Linked DNA regions of Homo sapiens: all the other regions are linked to region 3. Evidence: promoter capture Hi-C in 16 types of primary human blood cells and fetal thymus (Javierre and others, 2016). All regions are on one chromosome and are shown on one strand. The core of a region is centred on a gene start or on the middle of the fragment in contact, and the rest is flanking DNA. Distances in the headings are between cores, read along the strand shown.

The links. Contacts are between HindIII fragments. The CHiCAGO score rates a contact against its expected background, and 5 or more counts as called.
Region 1: a fragment that was not itself captured here is called in contact with the fragment with the promoter of AQP3 in region 3 in 3 of 17 cell types (endothelial precursors, fetal thymus and naive CD4 T cells); the score reaches 6.4 in endothelial precursors.
Region 2: a fragment that was not itself captured here is called in contact with the fragment with the promoter of AQP3 in region 3 in 1 of 17 cell types (endothelial precursors); the score reaches 6.9 in endothelial precursors.

The regions. Positions count from the first base shown.
Region 1 is chr9:33,298,647-33,302,087 of GRCh38, forward strand. It overlaps NFX1 (nuclear transcription factor, X-box binding 1), which reads left to right. Exons shown (of 24, transcript NM_002504.6): 3 at 2,617-2,775. Among named protein-coding and RNA genes, the nearest start is that of NFX1, 9.9 kb to the left of the region's middle. The HindIII fragment of the contact is 7,607 bases long and covers 1-3,441 here.
Region 2 is chr9:33,280,623-33,284,358 of GRCh38, forward strand. It overlaps CHMP5 (charged multivesicular body protein 5), which reads left to right. Exons shown (of 8, transcript NM_016410.6): 8 at 187-1,448. The coding sequence ends at 237. Among named protein-coding and RNA genes, the nearest start is that of NFX1, 8.0 kb to the right of the region's middle. The HindIII fragment of the contact is 3,383 bases long and covers 43-3,425 here.
Region 3 is chr9:33,445,464-33,449,051 of GRCh38, forward strand. AQP3 (aquaporin 3 (Gill blood group)) reads right to left here and starts at 2,130. Exons shown (of 6, transcript NM_004925.5): 1 at 1,960-2,130. The coding sequence starts at 2,067. RefSeq lists a silencer at 2,116-2,305. The HindIII fragment of the contact is 14,846 bases long and covers 1-3,588 here.

The DNA.
Region 1 (3,441 bases), core at 941-3,440, 150 kb before region 3:
GGTGGCACATGCCTATAGTCCCAGCTACTCAAGAGGTTGAACTAGGAGGATCGCTTGAGCCCAGTGGGTCAAGGCTGCAGTAAGTAGTGGTTGTGCCACTGCACTCTAGCCTGGGTGACAGAATAAGAACCTGTCTCAAAAAAAAAAATATTATTAAGCTGCTGTGTGGAGAATAGGCTCTAAGAAGGCAACAGGACAAGTTAGGAGGCTATTGCAGTTGTTCAGGTAGGAGATGATGGAGACTTAGACTGGAGTAATAGTGTGGAAAAGGTAACAATTGGATAGATTTTGGATGTATTTGGAAGGAAGATTTTATGCCTGAGCAACTTAAAAGAATGGAATTGGCATTTACTGAAGTGTCAAAGCCTAGTAGAGAAAAAGGTGTTTGTCTGTAAAATGTTTCAGTTTGGAATAATTTCAGATTTATAGAAAAGTTGCAAAGATAGTTCAAAGAATTCCCATATATCTTTCACCCAACTTCCTCTAATGTTAACGTCTTACATAACCAGACTGCCTTTGTTAAAACTAAGAAATTAGCACTGGTATAATCATATTAACTAAACTACAGATGTTATTCAGATTTCACCAGTTTTTCTGCCAATGTCCTTTTTCTGTTTGAGGACCCAATCCAGGATACCACGTTGCATTTAGTCATGTCTCCTGAGTCTCCTACCATCTCTGACAGTTTCTTCATCTTTCCTTTTTGGAAAAGATGTTTCTGCTCTTGTTTTATTTACTTCTTATTCAGGGAAGATTTTTGTTTAATTTGGTTAAATTTCTGTAATCCCAGTACTTTGGGAAACCGAGTCAAGAGGATCACCTGAGCCCAGGAGTTCAAGACCATCCTGGGCAACAGAGGTAGACCCCATCTCTACAAAAACTAACAAAAAAATCAGCCAGGTATAGTGGCACACGCTTGTGGTCCCAGCTACTCAGGATGCTGAGGTGGGAGGATCGCTTGGGCCCAGGAGTTTGAAGATGCAGTGAGCCACGATCATGCCACTGCACTCGAGCCTAAACTTTGGTGACGCCTGTAACTTTCACAGAAAGAGGTTGTGGAACAGACTAAATATCACTCATTTATTCCTTTATCCATGAATTTAACAAATATTTAATGGAGCACCTAGTATATGCCAGACACTGGAAATACTACACTCAGCAAGGTAGACAAAACTCTCCCTTCTCCTGAGCTTTCAGTCTCAGGGTGTTCTCTATTTCTTTTGACATTAAACTGAACAATCAGAAAGTAAATCTTAGGAGAGCCAATATTATGGAATATTACAGTGTGCGCTTTTGAGTCAGATAGTTTGACAAGTTTGAATTTTGACTTTTAAATTTCTAGTTGTGTGACCTTGGATAAATGATCTAACTACATGAAGCCAGTTTCTTCATCTGTAAAATGGTACCTATGTTATAGCATTTTTTTTTTTTTTTTTTTTTTTTTTGAGACGGAGTCTCACTCTGGAGTGCAGTGGTGCAATCTCGGCTCACTGCAACCTCCGCCCCCGGGTTCAAGAGATTCTCCTGCCTCATCCTCCTTGGATTACTACTGGGATTACAGCCACACTCCACCACGCCCAGCTAATTTTTGTATTCTTAGTAGAGATGGGGTTTCACCATGTTGGCCAGGATGGTCTTGATCTCCCGACCTCATGATCTGCCCGCCTTGGCCTCCCAAAGTGCTGGTATTACAGGTGTAAGCCACCGTGTCCAACCTGTTACAGCCTTTTTGAGAGGACTAAATAATAATATGTAATGTGCTTGCAATGTTGTATTTAAGGTTAATTTTATTCTTTTAACTTATTTAGACCTGAAAGCAAATAACAATAATATTATGAAATAAATGCAGTGCTAAAAGTATGTACTCAAAAAAGCATATACACACACTCACACTCAGTTTTGAGAGTATCTGGCTGTATTGAAATCTAGAAAGACTTTGCTGCAATTGTGTTTGAGGAAAAAAATCTGGAAGTGGGTGAAGGTATTCAGGAATAGATCTGGGAGGATTATTCTGATACTACACACTGGTCTGTGTCACTGGACTTTGAGCTCCTGGAGCCAGGGACTGTAACACCACCATGGGGCTTATGGTAGGCACCAAGAATATCTTTGTTAAGTGAATGACTAAAGACTTTGAGGGCAACGGCTAGAGCCATCTCACCACTCATGGGTTGTTGGAACCTGCCCAGACTTGGGCTTCTTATAGCTGACACTACAGCTTCACGAGCCTCTTTCTAACCTAAATCCATGGATCTGATAGATTTAGAGGATCCTGGAAAATAGAAAATGCAAAGCAAGATCCTGTATTGCCCAGTGGATCCTCAGGCTATGTTACAAGGGGCATTTGGCTACTCTGCTGTTTTCCTGGGAATGTTTCCTTAATTGTGGGAATCCCCACCTGAGTGTCTCCTTCCTAAATCCTCTTCCTCAGCAAATTCCTGCCCCTTTTTGGCCTCAGTCTGAATAGCCAGCTGCCTTACCCAGAATCAGATATCCCTTAAAATCTCTGTGTTTGGATTCTTCTCTTGAGTGACTTGCTGATCCTTGGTTGATTAAAGTGAGGAATGGTTTTTTGTGTTTGAGTTAATCTTTTTTGTTATTTTGTTTTTTAAACAGGTTCTCTAATTGAACAACTAACAACAGAAAAATACGAGTGCATGGTGTGCTGTGAATTGGTTCGTGTCACGGCCCCAGTGTGGAGTTGTCAGAGCTGTTACCATGTGTTTCATTTGAACTGCATAAAGAAATGGGCAAGGTCTCCAGCATCTCAAGCAGGTCAATTAATTCTCTCTTCTGAGTAGTTATTCTCCCCTATTTGATACGTTTAAGTATTATTAAGCCCAGCTTTAAAAATACAGTTTAATTTCTCTTAACTACTTTTTCTGCAGGGAGAGTATGTTACCTTGATCATGTGTTTCATATGACCAGAATTAAGTTATAGATCTTAAATAAACCAGCTAAACAACAATATTAAAATATATTTTAAGATACGACAAAATCAGTCACTCTTATTGAAAATGATGGCTTTTACTTATTATTTTTTCTTTGACCTACTGATTTTATTTCCTGTGGATACATAAACAGAAGTGTGATTGCAGGATCATATGGTAATTCTATTTTTAATTTATCTTCTTCTCATTTTTGGCCAGGCATGATGGCTCACGCCTGTAATCCCAGCGCTTTGGGAGGCCAAGGCAGGCGGATCATCTGAAGTCAGAAGTTCAAGATTAGCCTGGCCAACATGGCAAAACTCCATCTCTACTAAAGATATAAAAATTAGCCAGGCGTGGTGGCGGGCACCTGTAATCCCAGCTACTCGGGAGGCTGAGGCACAAGAATTGCTTGAATCCAGGAGGTGGAGATTGCAGTGATCTGAGATTGCACCACTGCCCTCCAGCCTGGGTGACAGAGCAAGACCCTGTCTCAAACAAACAAAAAAAC
Region 2 (3,736 bases), core at 484-2,983, 170 kb before region 3:
CTCTTCTTGATTCATCACTTCCTCCTTTACCTTTCATGAAAAAGCTTGTTCTCATCTTATGACTGCGATTTTGGTTTTGATTGATTAAATACTTGGAAATGAGTTTTAACTATTAAATGTTTGTAATCCTTTTTTTTTTTATCAAATAGAAAAATAGTGGCACTAAACATTGCTTCCTTTTTACAGGATGGAGTTCTGGTGGATGAATTTGGATTGCCACAGATCCCTGCTTCATAGATTTGCATCATTCAAGCATATCTTGTAAAACAAACACATATTATGGGACTAGGAAATATTTATCTTTCCAAATTTGCCATAACAGATTTAGGTTTCTTTCCTTTCTTTGAAGGAAAGTTTAATTACATTGCTCTTTTATTTTTTCCATTAAGAGACTCATTGCTTGGGAAATGCTTTCTTCGTACTAAAATTTGATTCCTTTTTTTCTTATGAAAAACGAACTCAGTTTAAAAGTATTTTTAGCTCGTATGACTTGTTTTCATTCATTAATAATAATTTGAAATAAAACTAAGGAAATGGAATCTTAAAAGTCTATGACAGTGTAACTCTACAGTCTCAAAATGACCTGATAAATTGATAAGACAAAGATGAGATTATTGGGGCTGTTCATATTATGATTCAGAATCATTTTCTATTGTGGTATTATAGGTTGGTTAAAGTGATGGCCTTTTTGATGGGTTTTGTTGTGTCTTGTGAACAAGTCGTTACTGTGTCCATTATTGGAATGGAATTATCACTACTGTATCATGAGTGGGTATTTTGATTCTATGGTTCCCTCAGTATTACATCTTGACTTGTAATCAATTATGAATATTTCTTGATATTTAATGTATAGGACATTTATTTATACTCAATAAATATTTTTCAAAAGGATATAATTTTAATAATATCACTTCAGCTTAAAACCTCTACTGCGGAAACCAAATTTAATAGAATTTTAATGTCATTTCAGCCTATAACTCCACTACAGAAACCAAATTAACCAGTAGCATTGTGAGGAAAGAGCAAGGAACAATCTGGGCTTGGGCCCTGGGTCTACCATTTACTAACTACTGAGTAGTCTATTCAACCTCTCTAACCTTCTGTTTCCTTATTAGTAAAATCATGCTTAACTCACAGAGCTTTTGTGAGGAATAATTGAGGTAATGGTCATAAGTACCTTGTTAACTGCAAGGGGCTATTCTTATATGAGGGATTGTTAACAATAAAAAAGAAACTGCTTCATTCTTTTCTTGGAAGGTGCCTGGAGTACTACAGCAAGTTCAAACTCCTGCCCAATTTCAGGGTCTTTAATGATCCTGTCCTCCCTTCCTCATTCAACTTGTTGCCAACAGCATGGCCCCTCCAGCCTAGCTGGGTGCCTCACAGTGCTATGTGCACCTGACTCTCATGTGTCTGCAGATCAAACCAATAAACATTTAGGAACACCAGCTTTGTAGAAGTCTCTGTACCAGCCCAGGGGTTACCAAGTTCCTCTCTTCAGGAGTTCTTGTCTAGTTACAAGTGGAGATGAGATAACGTATGTAACCCTCTCCTATCTCCAACCTCACCTTCTCAAGAAGCCTTCCAGAGGGAGCAAACATTATAGTATTCATCATTACCTTCTTGAAACCTTTCTTGGCTTTTCTGTGAGTTCTGTGTTTTCTTCTAATCTGGCCCACTTACTCTCTTATATGGATACCTCTTTCTTAGCCCCTTGAATATTTCTTCCATTAGAGTTCCAATCTGTATTCTACTTGAGAAATCTCACACCCATGATATCAACTATTACCTACACACTAATGACTCAAAATGACTGTCACTAGCCTAGACTTCTTATCCTTATTTTCAATTCTGGGCATTTCCACTTAAATGCCCCATCGTTACCTAGAATCTAACATATCCAAATTAAGCTCATTATCTTGGGGTTCACTGTCAGCAAACATTTCTCGTTGATTTCTCGTCTTGCTTAGTGTTACCAGTGATTCATATATTGCCCATTTTAGTGGGTGATATTTAGCCCTTTAGCTAGACCACATTAGTGCATTGGATATGAGTGAGCAATCATTCTACCTAAATCTCTACTCTCTTGGGTTTTGTGATAGTACTCTCCGGTTCTCCTGTTCCTCTAACTATTCCCTCTAAGGCTTCTTTCTGAAATCCTCAACTCTCTAACTGTAATGTTACTGCTCCTCTGGATTCTAGCTTTTACCCCCCAGACTTCTTTCTCTGTTTACTTACATTTAGTGATCTCAGCTATTCTCATGGCTTTAACTGCTAACTTCCAAATCTATACTTCTATCCCTGAACTTGCCCCTGAGTTTCAGAATCTTATTTATATCCAGCTGTTTGCCTAACAAATATTTGGATGTTCCAGAAGCCCACAAGCACCTCACATTCAAATAGCTGAAACAGCCTATCACCTTTCCTCAGACCTGAATCTCCTGCTTCTGTTTTCCCTGTCTCATGATGGGAGATGTGAGACAGGGAAACCATTGTCTCATGATGGGAGGCTGTGAGGCTAATGGAATTATTATTCTCCTATCATTTAAAACAGAAAGCGCTTGAGTTGTCCTTGATGCCTACATTTTGCCTACACAGTCAATTATCCTTAAACCCTAATCCCTGTTTCTCAAATCTAACTCCTCCTCTCCTTCTCTCAACTCTCGCTGGCCTAGATGTCTCTCACATAGTCTTTTGGAATGTCTTCTCTTCTCGCATAGTTTCACTTCCTTGAGTACACTGATCACATATAGCTACTCTTACCTTTCTAAAATATAAATCTGACTTGAATTCTTTAATGTCCTCTAATACTTCCACCGGGGCATAAAAAGCTGCCAATGACCTGGCCTCTGCCTATCTGTAATGGTTTATTGCCTAGTCTTTTCAGAAAGCATTTCCTTTCTTTCAAGGGAACTGCTCCCCCATTTCAACTGTGCGATTATTAGGAACATGCCAATTTTAGAGTAGTACTGTCCTTACCCTTCCAAGCTATGGAAGTGTGTATGTGGTCACGCTGTGTCTATCAGAGTCCATAACTCACATTTTCTAAATAGAAAGTAGGGGAAGTGCTACTCTTTGTCAGTATGAGAGATTGAAGCCAGAGGGGAGCCAAGATGAGAGACAGACTGAAAGATGTCCATGGCACTCAGCTCTGAATTCTGATCCTTGACATTCCAAGTCTCTACAACTCTTCGTTCTGTGAGGTATTTGAGGATTCTGCAAATAAACTTAACCCCCTTTTCTGCTTAAAGTAGTTGGCATTGGGTTCCTGTCACTTGCCAGTAAGAGACAGAATAATTGCTCTGCAGCTTGTGTCATGTCACACTTTTCAATTTTGTGATCTAGTAATTGTTCTGCATCTGGTCCCCCCACATCCACCATATAGCCATGATTCCTTGCCTCTGTTCATGGTTTCTCCTACCTGAAGCTTCCTTATGTCTTTGTCATTCTGCTAATTCTTCCTGTATTGGGGAAAGGCCAAAGGGCATGCCCTGGTCTGCATCAATACCAGTGAATTAAAGGAAAGTGGAAGGAGTGAGTCCTGTATTAGAAAGCCCTAGGTACCATAAAGCCTGTGATCATCACTCCTATAGCTACCACCAGACAACCTCACTGGTCAATATTTCACCTGTTAACTACTAGGAAAGAGCAGAATTGAGTGCAGGGGGTCCTAGGTTTTAATCTGTCAGTTCTGAGAGTTTAGCAGGAATGGGGAAGGAGATTGATATGATTCTGT
Region 3 (3,588 bases), core at 880-3,379:
AGGCAGGTGAGAGCAAAGATCAGAGATTGCAGGTGTATGTGTGAGGAGGGGTGGTGGGAGACAGGCACGTGAGGGTCTGAGGCGCCCTGCCCTGCTTGGGAGGCCCTGGCAGCAGCTCCTTGCCTGCCAAAGGCTCAGACCTGGCTCCATCCCAGGACGCCTTGGAGGGAGGAGCTGTCAGAGCCAGTTCCACCACCTTGGGGCTAATCTTCCTCTTCCTCCCCCAACCCCTGCCCTGAGTTCTCGGCCAGCACCGCCCCCTGCCCTCACACCAGGTATCTCAGAGAAAGGGGCTTTCCTCACCCCAAAGCCAACCCTGATTCTGCCACTGCAGGCCTAGGCTCCCAACACGCAGGTAGGCAGGCAGGCACTCACCCACTACAAAGGGATCCCCAGGCCTGCCCCTCCAGTTCATGCAGTCCTTGAAGTTCTGCTTCTCACTGATATCCAATACCTCACATCCATCTGAGTCTGCAACCCTTCCCCTAAAATTTAACACTCTTCTTTTGTGGTCTGGGATAAGCCTGATGATCCTGGGGCTCAGTGGGAGGACTAACGGCTCCTTTGTGAGAGAGTGAACTGAGACTTGGGAGGGAATGAGGAGGCCCCTCTAGGAAAATAGAAGACATCATCCTCCCCTAGCCTGGCTGCTCTAAAACAGGTGGCTGGACTCAGGACTCCGATAGGAGTGAGGGCTCCGAGGCAGGAGAGTGATAAAGGCCACCTCCTATTGCCTTCTTGGCACAGGAGAGAGGGGCTAGGGCTGGCTGATAGGACGACTAATCTTATGGGAGGCTGTGGATAAAATGCCCCCTGTGGCTTCCCCACTTCCTATTCTTGGAAGCCAGAAGTGGGTTTCAGCCCTCCTCTGCCCATAGATCCTGATCCTCAACCATTTGGGGATCCCTACTTGCCCTTAGTTAGGCTTCCTAGTCCACAGTGGGCCAGCTGGTCTGTACTACCCAGGGCTGGGGCAGGAACGGAGTAACCCACTCACTGCAATGTAGCAACTGAACACAGAGGAAAACAGGTGTAACCACATGAGCGGCTGAAAAATCAGAGTAACTGGGACAGGAAATAGAACATAACTGGTGGGTCTGCCAGACCTAAGAAGTGCAAACAGAGTCACTCAGAACAAAACCAGGGTGAAACTGGTGTGACCAAGGAGTAACTAGGACTGAGGAGTAACTCAGGCAGGGAAATGCTCACTCAGAGAACCCACAGAGTAACCAAGAGGCCAGGGAGTAACCAGAATGCTTGTCGTCTTCTGCACAGACGCTGACAGCATCTGTCTGGATAACAGACAGGGCCTGGGAGTCGCTGAGCACCAGGTGAGCAACTTTAGACACGCGTCCTCTGTGCCTGGGCCTAGCTTCCTCCCACCCTTCTACCGTCAGAATCTGCCTCCCTTCCCACTTCGCTGTTCGCAGCCCATGTGGCCTGCACCCTCTGCCCCCACTCGTGCAAACTGTCCTCACTCACTTCAACCTTTGGACTTTTTGAGGCTTAATTATTCATTAGAGGCCAGACACCCAGGACCCAAATAACCTAATAATGGCTCATTTGCCTCCGCCCCCTCCCCTACATCTGGGGGCTGGGATTCTGGGAATCTGGAGGGGTGTGGGAGGCAGGGGAAGTGGCTGGCTGTCCCAGACTGCAAGCGTGACCGCTGCCCCCAGCCTGTTGGCTGAGTCACTTGTGGGAGGGTAAACGATCGGCACTATCACTGGGGAGTAACAGCTGTCATTCTGGCAAGAGTCGGAGCTGTCAGAGAGGGGGTTAGAACCGTGGGGAAGAGGACTTTGGAAGTCAGCTTGATCCTCCGCGGTTAAGCGTGGGGGTCACAGCTGGGGAGGTGGGTCCAGGCTACCTTGGAAAACACAGCCCCTTCGGGGAAGTGAGAGTTTGGGGAGTGCAAGGGCTGGAGAGAGAAGGGCTTCCCCGGCTCCCTCCACTCACCACCAGGATGAGGGTCCCCAGGCACTCGGCCAGCGCCTGTCGGAGCAGCCGGTAGCGGATGTGGAGCATCTCCCCGCAGCGGGACACCAGCTCCTTCTGTCGACCCATGGCGGGGCAGGCGGCGGCGCTGTCGGGCGGGCAGGGGTGGCGGGAGGCGGTGGCGCAGCGAGCAGCGGCCTCCAGCGCTGGTGGCTCCCTTTATAGGAGCGCTGGAGACACGGGCCCCGCCCGCCCTGCAGCCCCGCCCTGCAGTCCCGGAGCGCCGAGGAGTGCGCGCCCCCTCGCCCCCGCCCCACCTCGGCTGGGAGGCTGGTGCGGACGCCGGGTGGAGGGAGCTGCGGGCATGGAGTGTGAGGAGCTTTGAGGGACGGGTGGCCTTCGGAGGGCGCTTAAGGGAGGGGACGTCAAGGGGGCTGAGAGGCTTAGGCAGATCTGAGAGCCAATGGTGGGATTATAGGCAGGGTTCAGGGCCATGGCTGGAGAGGATGCAGCTGTCATAGAGACCACCTGCGCCCTGTGATCACCCCACTTCCTTGCGGGCAGGAGGAGACCTGTCAGAAAGAAACTGGCCGCATCTCTCCAGGATGACTGGACCCAACAGATCCTCAGTTCGAGGCAGGAGGAGGAGGCTGCGAGCCCCAAGTGAGAAGCAACACTGTCTCTTCTGTCAGGACAGATAAGGCACCGACCCTTCAAGGGGACAGCTAGTGTCAGAGGGGCAGCAGTCCAGACTCAGGTGGGCACACAGACACACGTGCTGAGTTCCAACCAGACTTCATGGGCCCTTCTCCCTGTGCTATGAGCACGTCGTGTGTCGCATGTCCTGGCCAGCTATGTCCACAGCTGTGTCTACACATGGCGGATGTCCTGTGTGCCTAATTGTACGGCTGGGCATTCCTCGTGGCTGTGCACATGCCTGTTGAACATGGCTAGGTGACCTAGCTTGTCACACGTGTACCTGCGTGCATTGCTCACATGGCTCCAGAGGCTGAGCTGCAGTTGCCCCGACATGCCACATGCCACATGTTTGCCAGCAGGCTGAGTCCCAGCTGTTTTTAACCCTCTCCTCTCCCATCTGACTTACCCCCAGCCAAGGAAGAGTCTGTCTCTTTTTTTTTTTTAGACGGAGTCTCTCTCTGTCGCCTAGGTGGAGTGCAATGGCGTGATCTCGGCTCCCTGCAACCTCCACCTCCCAGGTTCAAGTGATTCTCCTGCTTCAGCCTCCCGATTAGCTGGGATTACAGGTGCACACCACCATGCCCAGCTAATTTTTGTTTTTTTAGTGGAGATGGGGATTCACCATGTTGACCAGGCTGATTTCGAACTCCTGACCACAAGTTATCCACCCGCCTCAGCCTCCCAAAGTGCTGGGATTACAGGCGTGAGCCACTGAGCCCAGCAAGTCTGCCTCTTTAAGCAAACTTAATTATGGGGGAGTCAGCCCTATCTGAGGGGGATCATGGGACAACCTTGCCCTCTCTCTCTTTTTAAAGAGTAGGGTCTTGCTCCATCACCCAGGCTGTGGTGCAATCACAGCTCACTGTAGCCTCGAACTCCTGGGCCCAAGTGATCCTCCCACCTCAGCCTCCAGAATGGATGGGACTATAGGGACTATGTGCCACCATGACA